3 separate regions of the Homo sapiens genome follow, and all the other regions are linked to region 3. Evidence: promoter capture Hi-C in 16 types of primary human blood cells and fetal thymus (Javierre and others, 2016). All regions are on one chromosome and are shown on one strand. The core of a region is centred on a gene start or on the middle of the fragment in contact, and the rest is flanking DNA. Distances in the headings are between cores, read along the strand shown. Region 1 has its middle 180 kb from the start of LINC02538. Region 2 has its middle 120 kb from the start of TTLL2. Region 3 holds the start of LINC01558 (long intergenic non-protein coding RNA 1558).

Region 1 (3,565 bases), core at 1,034-3,533, 290 kb after region 3:
GGCCTGCTTCTCCAATTCCTTTGGGTCTTTACTGGACCGTCACCTCAAAAATGCCACACTGCTGCTCTTCAAGCCAAGCCCCCACCCCCACCCCTCCCGCCACCTGGCTCCCATCATCCTCTGCTCATCTTCGTGCTGCTGGGATGAGCAATTCTCCTGATTGTCTGCTACTGAGGTCCACTACTTCTAAAGGAGCCTCCCAGCTGTTTGTTTCCATGTCTCCAAACATAGCACAGCGTTTCCTGTTTTGTTTTCTTCCATGAGAGGCTGCCTATGTCATTGCTTCTGTCCACTTGGTTGGAAGGTCCTGGAATCAGCTTCCTCCTGAAAGTAGACCCTGTATATCCAAGATTAGACCCTGCCCCACGGTGAACTTTCTGCAGGCAGGAGCTATCATCTAGATCTCTCTGCCTCCATCACCAAACCAAGCACCTGGTTCAGTGCTGAGGCCCAAAGATATCCGTGTGATAGAATCTTTCAAGAAAGGGAGATTTATGACATGGCCAAACCAATGTCTCAGAAAAGTCAATTCAACCCTGAGCAAACCAAGATATGTCTGTGGTAGGATGGCACAAGGAATTCCCATCTAGCTTGAGGCAGCCGCTCCTGGGTTTTTGTGCTTTGCATTCAGAAATAAGGCACTAGAGTAGAGGGTGGCTCAGGGAGCAGAGGGGGTTGGAAGAGAAGTGCCAAAAGCAGCAACATAAATGACATTGGAAGATGCGAGTTCACAGAGATAAGCCGGGAGAGAAGGGATGGAGGGAGGCAGTGGCTGGAGATGGGTGGCATGGTGAGGTCCAGGCTGTGCTGTGCTGCATCCCCTGCTCGGCCCCCACCCCAGGGAGGGATTGGTGCTTATAGGCTTCATGTGTGGTACAAGGAGATGGATGATGCTGATTGTTTTCAGCCCACCTCTTCTCTTAGCAGGGCATACGCCCACCTGACAATTACTTAGTCTGAGTTTAAATTCTTCATCTCAAAGTAAAGAATATGAGAGCATCCCTTTACCCTTAACTAGCACAACTATCAAGAGCCTTCTGGGGCCTCCTTGGGGTAAACTTGGAAACTGCTCAGGCAGGTGGCCACCAATCCTTGGGAGTATAGTTTTTATCAACAACACATTCTTTTCTTGGTGACAAATCTTGCTTCTAAGAAGTTGTCCTTCAGAAGCTGTAATTTTCAGAACATGAGGTGGTAACTCATTGTAAGAAGCCTGTGGGTTATACAAAAGAAAAGGGGGAACGAGACGTATCTTCATGGACAGGGAGCAAAGCTGGTGGGCTTGTCACTCACATTGATGCGACTGATCAATCCAGGGGATGCTGGAATTAAACCAGCTCCTGTGCAGCCCGGGCCGACAGCCCCCATATTTATTTGTAGAGCAGTTTGGTGATAAGAATTGAAGAAGTACTTACTTATGATATTTGAGTTTTCCCAATAAGGCTGGCCATCCTCATTTTGTAGGTGAGGAAAGAGACTTGGAGGAAGTGGGGCTCCGAGGTTGACGCCAGCCATCCTCTGGCTCTCCCTCCTGTACTGTTCCTACTGCTCTCAGAACACCTGCATCTTGAATCACTTGTTTCTCCAACCAGTTCTTTAAGCACCACCCAGGAGTTAAACATTCTAAAACATTTGCCAAATCTTTGTCAAAGCAGGAGCTGGAGGCCAGCGCTTGCCCTGGACAATGGCAGAGTCTGTAAATCCACTTTTTAACACCTGTGGCACCTGTGGGCTCCAGATGGCAGAGGACTCTGATTAGCTCCGTGAACACCATGCTCCAGCAAACAGTGGGAGGCTGAAAGGGAGGCAGCGCTCGTGCATCCACATGGACTCGAATGAAGCCTCCGGTGCTGCTTCCCAGTGTGGACACATTTCCTGGCTGCTTGAAATATCCTCTTGGGCTTGTTAGTGGCTTCGAGCAGGAGCATGGGAGTTGGGTCAGGGCAGGCCCAGGGTGGAGGGGAGTGGGGGCAAAGGGGTGACTATTTGGGAGTTCTGCCCAGGGGGACACTTATTTGTAGGACACTTCCAGATAGTTGAAAGGATATAAAGACTAAAGAAAAAAAAACAGCAATTATCTTGCATGGAGCACAGAAGAATGCCCAAGAAGCACGTACGTGTCAGTCGACGTGAGCGGGGCCTCACTGCTTGGTGACTGCTAGAGAGATGGGGACCGGCTGGTTGAAATCATGGAGACGTTCTCTTCTGCCTTCCCTCCAGTCTGTGGCCCTCCCTCACCCATTGGCAGATGTGCAGATGAGAATCTGGGCACCTGGATTCTGTTCTCTGCTGCCTCCTGCTGCACTCCTGCGAAGGTGCTGGGAACCCCGGCGTGTGGCAGTAACTGTTTCTGAGTCAACGCTAGACGAATTGATTGCGTAGTCTGGGTTCTGATTGTGAGATCCCAGTGTCACTTCAGACGTGTGCCTGACGAAATTTCCCACGCTGCCTTCCCTGTTCACAGCAAACATCACCAATGTGTCTCGGTGCCTTGTCCTAGATCTCTTCCCAACACAATGCTCCCTGCAGCTGCATCCAATGCAGGGAGTTGGCTCATGACGAGGAGCCTGTGGACCTGCGGGCTACAGAGTCATGTGGATTTGGAACCAACCCATGCGCTGGGTCAAATGTGCTGGCTGACAACCACACCTCAGGGGGCTTTGCTGAGATGCAACTTCCAGACCAAGCCACAGGCACTGCGGAAAGCTCCTTCCTCCCGGTGGGGCCAACAGAAGGTCACTTCCGAGGTTCCAGTCTTATCAAACCCCCCATGGCTTGTCTCTTCCCGAATTCTCTCCTCCATGGGTCAGATGTCTGCGGTGCACGTGGCCTTCTCTCCCTCAACATAGTGAGCTCTGCTCAGCCAGCACATCTAACTCAATGCATGGGTTGGTTCCCACATGGGAGGTCTCGTTCATGTTGCTCCCGAGCTTGGGGGGACAACGCCTGCTCTCTCCAAAGCCTAAGCACTGGTGGTGCCCAAGGTGTGAGCACACAGGAGCCCAGAAGGAGGGCAGGATGAGCCACTAAAGGGACCCAGCCAGCTCAGCTGAATGTAGCCCTCCTCTCGTTGCTTTATTCCACCCACCACTGCCCACCGACAGGAATCACTGGAGACACATTTTTGGCTTATATGAGGTCTCAAATTTGTGTTCTTTGAATTAAAAAAGAGGATTGTGTTCTGTCTTGGATCTCCCTTAGATAGCACCGCACTGTCTGGGAGGAGAGCACCAGTGCCAGCTGGGGCAAGAGGGCTGGGGCTGGAGTCAGCACCCAGGGCAGGAGGGCTGTGGCCGGAGTCCAGCAGCTGAGTACTTCGGCCCCCAGGCTCTGTGGTGACCATGGGCCTGGCCGTGGAGGCCGTGGGAGGTGGTGTCGGCCTCATCCTCAGTCTCAGCTGTGAGACTGAGGTTTGCCATGGGCGGGGGCTGTGCGGGCCCAGGGCTAGTGTGGGTGACTCTGGAGACTGGGGAGGGGCAGGGCTTTGAGGAGGGGCATCCTGTATCTCAGTTTCCCCACCCCACTCCCTTCTCCTATTGTGCCACCCTGCAGCTCTGAGAACTGG
Region 2 (3,676 bases), core at 894-3,393, 350 kb after region 3:
AGACTTGCACGGGGTTCTGAGTTCGAGGAACCACACCATGATGTACAAGCAGCTCAAACCGACTAGTGCAGGGACTCACCACACCAGGCTGGCCTTGGAGCAGACCTCCGAGCCCCAGAGGGTGTCTGCTTAGACGTCTCACTTTCCACTTTCAGGTAATGGGACACTGATTCTTTTCATTCTGGCCTGTTCAGTTCCCAGGGGACTCTCACTGTCTAGCCCAGGTTTCTGTGCATTGAGTCTGCATAGAGTAAGATTTCTTTTTTTTTTTTTTGAGACGGAGTCTCACTCTGTCGCCCTGGCTGGAGTGAAGTGGCACGATCTTGGTTCACTGCAAGCTCCACCTCCCAGGTTCACGCCATTCTCCTGCCTCAACATCCTGAGTAGCTGGGACTATAGGCACCTGCCACCACGCCTGGCTAATTTTTTTTTTGTCTTTTTAGTAGAGACAGGGTTTCACCGTGTGAGCCAGGATGGTCTCGATCTCCTGATCTCGTGATCCGCCTGCCTCGGCCTCCCAAAGTGCTGGGATTACAGGCGTGAGCCACCGCGCCCAACTGATTTCTTTATCTTGCAGGATGTCAGCACTCTCTGGCTGTGCCTAATGCCACCGGCATCCCATCACAAACCCACAGGGATGTGGCTATGTCTTTATGAAGGCACTTCCCCCTGCAGTGTCCCCTAATAAGCATCAATAGTCAGCTGAGCCACTGGAGCTGCCAGCACCCTCACTCACTGATTAGTAAACAGGCATTAAAGACTTGCTTAAATTTCCACAGAAATAATAATGGGACTGGAAGCTGGGTGTCTTTATTTATGAAGAACCCATGTATTCCTGGATATCCACAAGGTCTTTGTGGGTTAAATTTCCTTACTATCCATCTGAAGGTTGACGACTCAGCTTACAGTAGGCATGCCTGCCAGGTAACCCCAGACGCCAGCGGCAATGGCTCCTCCTGCATATGGAAGGGCATTTTCCTGACAAGCCCATAGAAATGTTGGTTGTGGAGCTCAGCAGAATGTGTGATATTATCCATCGCGCAGCCATGGCTGGGTTTCTAATATAACAAAGTGAGAACACGCCAGTTTGGATATACCATCTGTGCCGCTAAGTTAGCAGTTCTTGGGGCCCTTATGTTCTATTAATGCTCTTTTCTTCCGTGAATATATATTAGCATATGTGTGTGTGCATATGTGTGTTTGTGTGTATATATGTGTGTGTGCATATATATACTTACATGCGTGTGTGCATACACACACAGACATATATTTGCTGAGCTTCATCTTCCACTTTTCTGTTATAAAAACTTTAAGTCACTTCTTATCAATAATGAGTACCTCCACGCTGTAATCTAGTTTATATGCCCTTTCCCTAAATATATGCTTGGAGAGGCCCATTCGTTTCTTGTGGGTGTGGTTCAGTTTCTGAAATGTTAGGAGTGTAGACCACCCTGGAACAACCTAGTGTTTCTGAAACAGACAAATTAAGAATGGGTCAGGTAGTTCCTCTGTCCTTCCCTTGGCTGAGCAAGCTTCAGTCCTGCACAAGTCCACTTTTCCAAAGCAGGACAGTTTACGAGGTGTGATGGTGGCGAAGTTCTAAGCCTTGCTCAGAGCTGGTGGCTCATGCGGACCTAGCCCTCGGCCGCCCACCCTGAGAGCTCTTACTGCTTTCCTTATTCCACAGTCCCCCTCCAGCCGGGCAAGGTGTCCCTCATCAGGCCGTGCAGCACTCACAGTAATGAAATAAAGTTCAGGAGCCCCTGCTCCCTGCCCCCGTCAGGGCTTCAGGGTGTCCTAGGGGCAGTGGGACATCCTAGGCCAGCTCAGCCCATCTGTGGGGGCCTCTGGTAAATGTGAGTCAGTGCTGAAATAATGGGGATTTTTCTCTTTCTCTCCAGGTGAAGCAGAGCGCTGGCCCTGCCCCCTCCTTTTCCCAGCATCAGTGACAGAACAGCTGTGGCGCTCTGCTACATTGCTGAACATTAAGAAAATATCAGATTTGCCCAGGAGCTACAATTGGTATCTCTGTGAATTGATGAAATTTGCATGAGGAGAAATAGGATCATCAATAATTAAGTGCTCTAAGCTCTCATCTTCAGAAAGCGTTGAACAGAAGCAGAGGGGAAACGTGTAGGGTCGCGGGTGAGGGGCAGCACGACACGGGGATTAGCTGGGGGATAATGGTGAAATGTTCAAAACTAAAGGCCCACAAGGAACCTGGAGACATTCTAAAACACTTTATTAAAAGCCAAAGGAATGCTAGGTCGCCCCAGAATTTATTATTTAAAAAAGCCAGTGGAAGATACATCCTATGTCAAAAAGCCAAGAGAAGGTGCAACTAATTTTTTATAGGGACGTGACACAAAGGAGAAAGTCAGACAGGAATCTATCCTGCAGTTGTGAAGTTGTGAGGTAATGCAATGTGCAGCACTTTGTCACTCCACAGATATTGCCAGCACTTCTTCTGTTTCAGGCTTGGTATGCGGAGCTGGCGTTAAATCTGTCTTCAAAACCAGCCATGGTTTCTGCCACTGTGAGTCTGAGCCTGGGAGGAGATGGGCCTTCACCGAATCACGCAGGTGGAGACACGCTGGGTGCTGGGGACGGTGGGGCTGGTGCAGCAGGGAGCCCCTGCAGGAATCAAGTTCTGGTGAGATCTGCATGAGAAGATGAGGGGCTTCCCAGAGAGGGGAGATGGGACCCAGTAACTGTGATAAAGAGCAGCATCTCCGGACCCTGAGGCAAGCTTATCTGGGCAAAAAGCACCCGCAAACTTAAAGGGAAAATGATTTTCCATATGCAGGTAGGATAAAACCTTTGGCCTCACAAAGGGAGATGGAAGCTATCTGGGTATGGCTGAAGTAGACAGGGCAAGCCCTGCTCCCCACTTTGCAGAAAACCTAAGAGAATTCCTGCAAGAAGTAGAGACCATGGCCTCTCCTAGTGTCTGTTGCTCTCAGCAAATACCCCATGAAATTGAAGAGCTGAATTCTTAAATAGGTCCATGAAGAATCAAGATAAACTCATTAGCAGTAGATTTACAAGGAGCTGAGCTATGAGTGACAGCTGGAAATTGCCTGGTAGGTGCCAGGCTCCTTGCATTGATGCTGTAGGACACAAACTTGTCATTTCTTGTGGGGAGTTTGACAGCAGAGCACTGAGTTGACTCCAGGTGGAGTTCATGATGCCCTGTGGGCGCTGGTGTCACTAACTCCCTGCTATCCCATGGATGTCTTTCTCCTTGTGTACACTTGAGACTCAGCTGACCCCCTGGGTCTGCTCATAGAAGAGACCAGAATGTTCACTCGTTTAACCAACACTGCTGCTGAGAGTTGGGGAGCGTGCAGAGCCCACTGCAGAATTGGTGGTTTCTTCCGAAGGTCAGGAGGTTAGCAGAAGGTGGGAGCGGGCTTGGTAAGGTAACAAAGTCTGGAAGCTGAGTGACACCAAGTGGTCATAACTTTTTGGCGTGACCACTATTACCGGAGTGTTTGCTGTGTGCCAGGCTGGGTAAGTAATGGCAGGCAAGACGGGCATAGCCTACGTCCTTGTAGGCCTCACAGTTTAGCAAGACATTTATAAACAGTCTGAAATTGCCAGAAGGCTCAAGGTAGCTTATCTATATGACATTATTTCTTTGTTCATTCTATAGACCAGAGGTCCATGGGTTGTT
Region 3 (3,261 bases), core at 549-3,048:
CCCAAAACTGAGGCCTTGAGGAGGAGACTACGAACGTGGCGGTGGAGATGTTTATCTCTTCACAGCGGCTGAGTTGTCTCTACTTTATGGGCTGCGAATACTTTCTGGCTTGTCATCTAGGAATCTCTTGGCATCTTTTTACCAAGTTTAATATCACAGAGCTATAAGGCTTAGAAGACCTCAGAGGCCATTACAGCCAACCCCCAGACTCCTATTCTGCATCCAAATTAGTGATAACACGTTATATAATTCCATTAAAAAAACCCAACCAACGAACCTTTTAGTACCTTCCTAAAAGAAGAGTTTTTCTTGAACACGGTGCTAACTAACCAATTTGATTGAAACCACCCGATATTTTGACATGGTAAAAAGCATATTGTGTAATAGAAATACAATGAGAGTCACATATGTGATTTAAAATTTTATTGAGCCATATTAAAAAAGTAAAAAGACACACACTCTTCTCGTGCGACACAGAACCGGGACCCCCGTACAGAACATTTTACTGTTTTCCCTTAATACCCAGGAAACATGCACTAACCTGGTAAATACCTGCTTCATGGAGAGTAGTCTTTCAGGATTCATACCCTCAGGACATTGTTGGGGACCTACTGGACTGAACAAAGGCGGGCAACACGGGAATAAAAGACAAGAGACAACAGAGTATATTTGGAAGAAGGGGTTAGGGGCACCTTGCCTTTAGTGGACAAGGGCCCTGAGCTTTACACAGCCCTCCGTATTTATTAGGCAAAAAGAGATAGCGAGAAAGCTGGGGGAGGGGGGTGATTGTCAGTCTGCCGTTTGGTTCACAGTAGTCTTGCATTTTTTGGACAATAGGCACTAGATTTTTTAGGCAGATAACTTTAAGGAGCCCGGAGCTAGGGAGTGATGTCTGTTAGCAAACCTTTTGGTGGCAGGGCAGTGTGAGTTTGCCCACATCCTGCATTCATGATAAACAGTTTGCTGTTTGTAGCCTCCAGCGGAATGCTGAGTTGGTCACGTCCCCCACGGGCCTTCGGCTCCCTGCAGGACACCACCGCCTAGACATTTGCCCACATTTGCTGACCTACACGCAGACACTCTGGCTGGTCTAGACACTCAGGGCCTTTACTCCGGCTCCCGCCAGAGGCCTGAGAAATCCACACCTCACTGATAGCTCCATAGCTCACCAGCGTCCGTGGTGAGCCAGTTTCCTTGGCGGCAGCATCCTCCGCCTTGGGAGAGGCCGTGGGGACCGTACTGAAGAAACTGCCACTCCGAGGCATTGCTCCGTGCTGGGCACTGCCATTGAGAAGTGCACCTAAGCGGCCACCAGTGAGCGACGACCACGCATGAACAGGAATGTTCTAGAGCGGAATGCACCTATGAAGGCTGAGGCCTGCGCGAGAACCTGCACCTGGAAGCCACCCTGACACGCTCCTCCCCTCGGGGCAACGTCCACCTCCTCGCTGTAGGGTGGGGAGGATGCCGCTGCTGCTGTGGACGGGGAGGGCCAGCGCGTGCGCCGCGGCCAGGGAGCCGTAGAAGCTCAGTCCCATCCGCCTTTCTCATGCCCCTTCCCTTTCCCGTCCTCCCTCCTCTCCTCTCACCTGCGTGGTAACAACGATTGTGACACTCGGTTTTCTTAAGAGGTGCACGTGATTCATTTTTAAAATTCCCTCAAAAGAACGTTTTCTTGAATTGAAACTAATGATCAAACAGAAGCTAGGCCGGGGGCAATGGCACCACCCTCTCTGCTTCCCTCAGTTCCACTCCCCTCCCCGCCACGCCCCACCTTCCTGCTCAGTGTGGGCTGGGGCGGGCAGCAGGCAGGACACGTGGAAACGCAACCGCCAGGAGGAAAGGCGGGACACAGCGGGAAGGGAGGTTTGCCTCCCCTCTCTTCCTGTGGTGACCCCCACCTCACTTACAAAAATCACCACCGACGTTTGGGAACCGTGCACGCCGACTGAAAGCAAAGCTCAGCTGACCTGCGAGGAGTCCCCGGGGAGCTGCCGCGGTGGTCGCCGTTGAGTCCGTCCGTGCCGCTGGGGCCGAGGCAGCTGGAGGTGAGCAGGTGCGGGCGGTGCGGCCGGATGGAGCCCACCAGCAACCGGGTGGAGGAGCCCGCAGCTCTCCCAGCTGCTGCCTAGCTGCTCCCTGCCCTGTTTTGAATTAGCGGTAGCAGAAAGAAACGGCGGAGCAGCGGCCCTCGGTGCCCAGAGGCCTGGCAGTGCAGTGCATCCTCTCCTTGTGCTGCAGGAGGTCAGAGCCAGCCAGGGAGGCAACTGCCTGCTTGGTCTGCCGGTGTCCAGACCGTATCCAGAGAGGGCGTGGCTGGATCTGAGAAAAGGCTGGCACCGGCCAGACTGGCAGTGGCTCAGTCCTGCCTGGCAGGAGCATCCACGGACTGGCTGGCCAGAGTGCAGGACAGCTGCCCAGGTTCCGCCTGTTCCACAACGTTCTATTCGCAAGGGGCCAGGGGCACTGCCCGCCTGGCCAGGTCTGCTGTGTAGAGGCGTGCAGGTGGCCAGTGACTGGCTGGGCTCCCGGGGCTGCTGCCTTTGCTCTGGGAAGACCACAGATGCCTCCTCTTGCGAGGGGCCTTCTTGTGTGCCGCTTGTTGGGAGATGTGGCCCACCTGCCTCGGGGCGGCTCCTGCAGGGTGGATCTCTGGCCACCCGGCCAGCTGAGAGGTGTCTCAGGGCTCACTCCGAAGCCTTGGCTTGGCTTTGTTCTCATTTCTTCTTTTGACCTCAAACAGGCCACGGTTCATGACTCTCTCAGGAAGGGATTTTATCTCCATCACTTGCAACTTCTTGGAGCTGAAGTCTGCACAGCACTGTGGAGATTGTCAGATCTGCGTGGACAAGGGAGGGCAGGCCTGGTGGTTTGGAGAAGTAGGGCTATGCCAGAGTGAGGTGGCACGGGGTGCAGGCGGCTTCTTTGAGGGGGACCCGGGGAAGCAGGAACAGGAAAGCCAGCTAAACTGCAACCTCAGTCCCCGTTGAAGACAGCAGGGCCTGAGGCAGCTGCACCCAGACGTCTCCGGAGTTCGTGTTGGTCCAAAGGAGGGAGGCTGGGTGGAGACTCACCTGCTGCAGTCCCCATGGGCTGAGTGTTGTGGAGCTGTCGGCTCCCTTTGTTCGGGGGTCTGTCCAAGCCTGGGCAGCGAGCTTCCTCGGCCTGGGAGGAGCCCACGAGGGGGACGCGGGAGGAGGGCACTGCCCCTCATTCGCTCCGGATGCTTGTCTCATTAGCCGTCAATTCACAGAGAGCAGT

The links. The method cuts DNA at HindIII sites, captures the fragments that hold promoters and counts their contacts. A CHiCAGO score of 5 or more calls a contact.
Region 1: a fragment that was not itself captured here is called in contact with the fragment with the promoter of LINC01558 in region 3 in 1 of 17 cell types (endothelial precursors); the score reaches 7.6 in endothelial precursors.
Region 2: a fragment that was not itself captured here is called in contact with the fragment with the promoter of LINC01558 in region 3 in 1 of 17 cell types (endothelial precursors); the score reaches 5.8 in endothelial precursors.

The regions. Positions count from the first base shown.
Region 1 is chr6:167,500,936-167,504,500 of GRCh38, reverse strand. No RefSeq gene overlaps it. Among named protein-coding and RNA genes, the nearest start is that of LINC02538, 180 kb to the left of the region's middle. The HindIII fragment of the contact is 5,644 bases long and covers 1-3,565 here.
Region 2 is chr6:167,444,562-167,448,237 of GRCh38, reverse strand. No RefSeq gene overlaps it. Among named protein-coding and RNA genes, the nearest start is that of TTLL2, 120 kb to the right of the region's middle. The HindIII fragment of the contact is 1,217 bases long and covers 1,535-2,751 here.
Region 3 is chr6:167,795,396-167,798,656 of GRCh38, reverse strand. It overlaps LINC01558 (long intergenic non-protein coding RNA 1558), which reads left to right and starts at 1,798. Exons shown (of 4, transcript NR_026773.1): 1 at 1,798-2,048. It overlaps LOC441179 (a long non-coding RNA gene), which reads right to left and starts at 3,128. Exons shown (of 1, transcript NR_149041.1): 1 at 409-3,128. The HindIII fragment of the contact is 6,189 bases long and covers 1-3,261 here.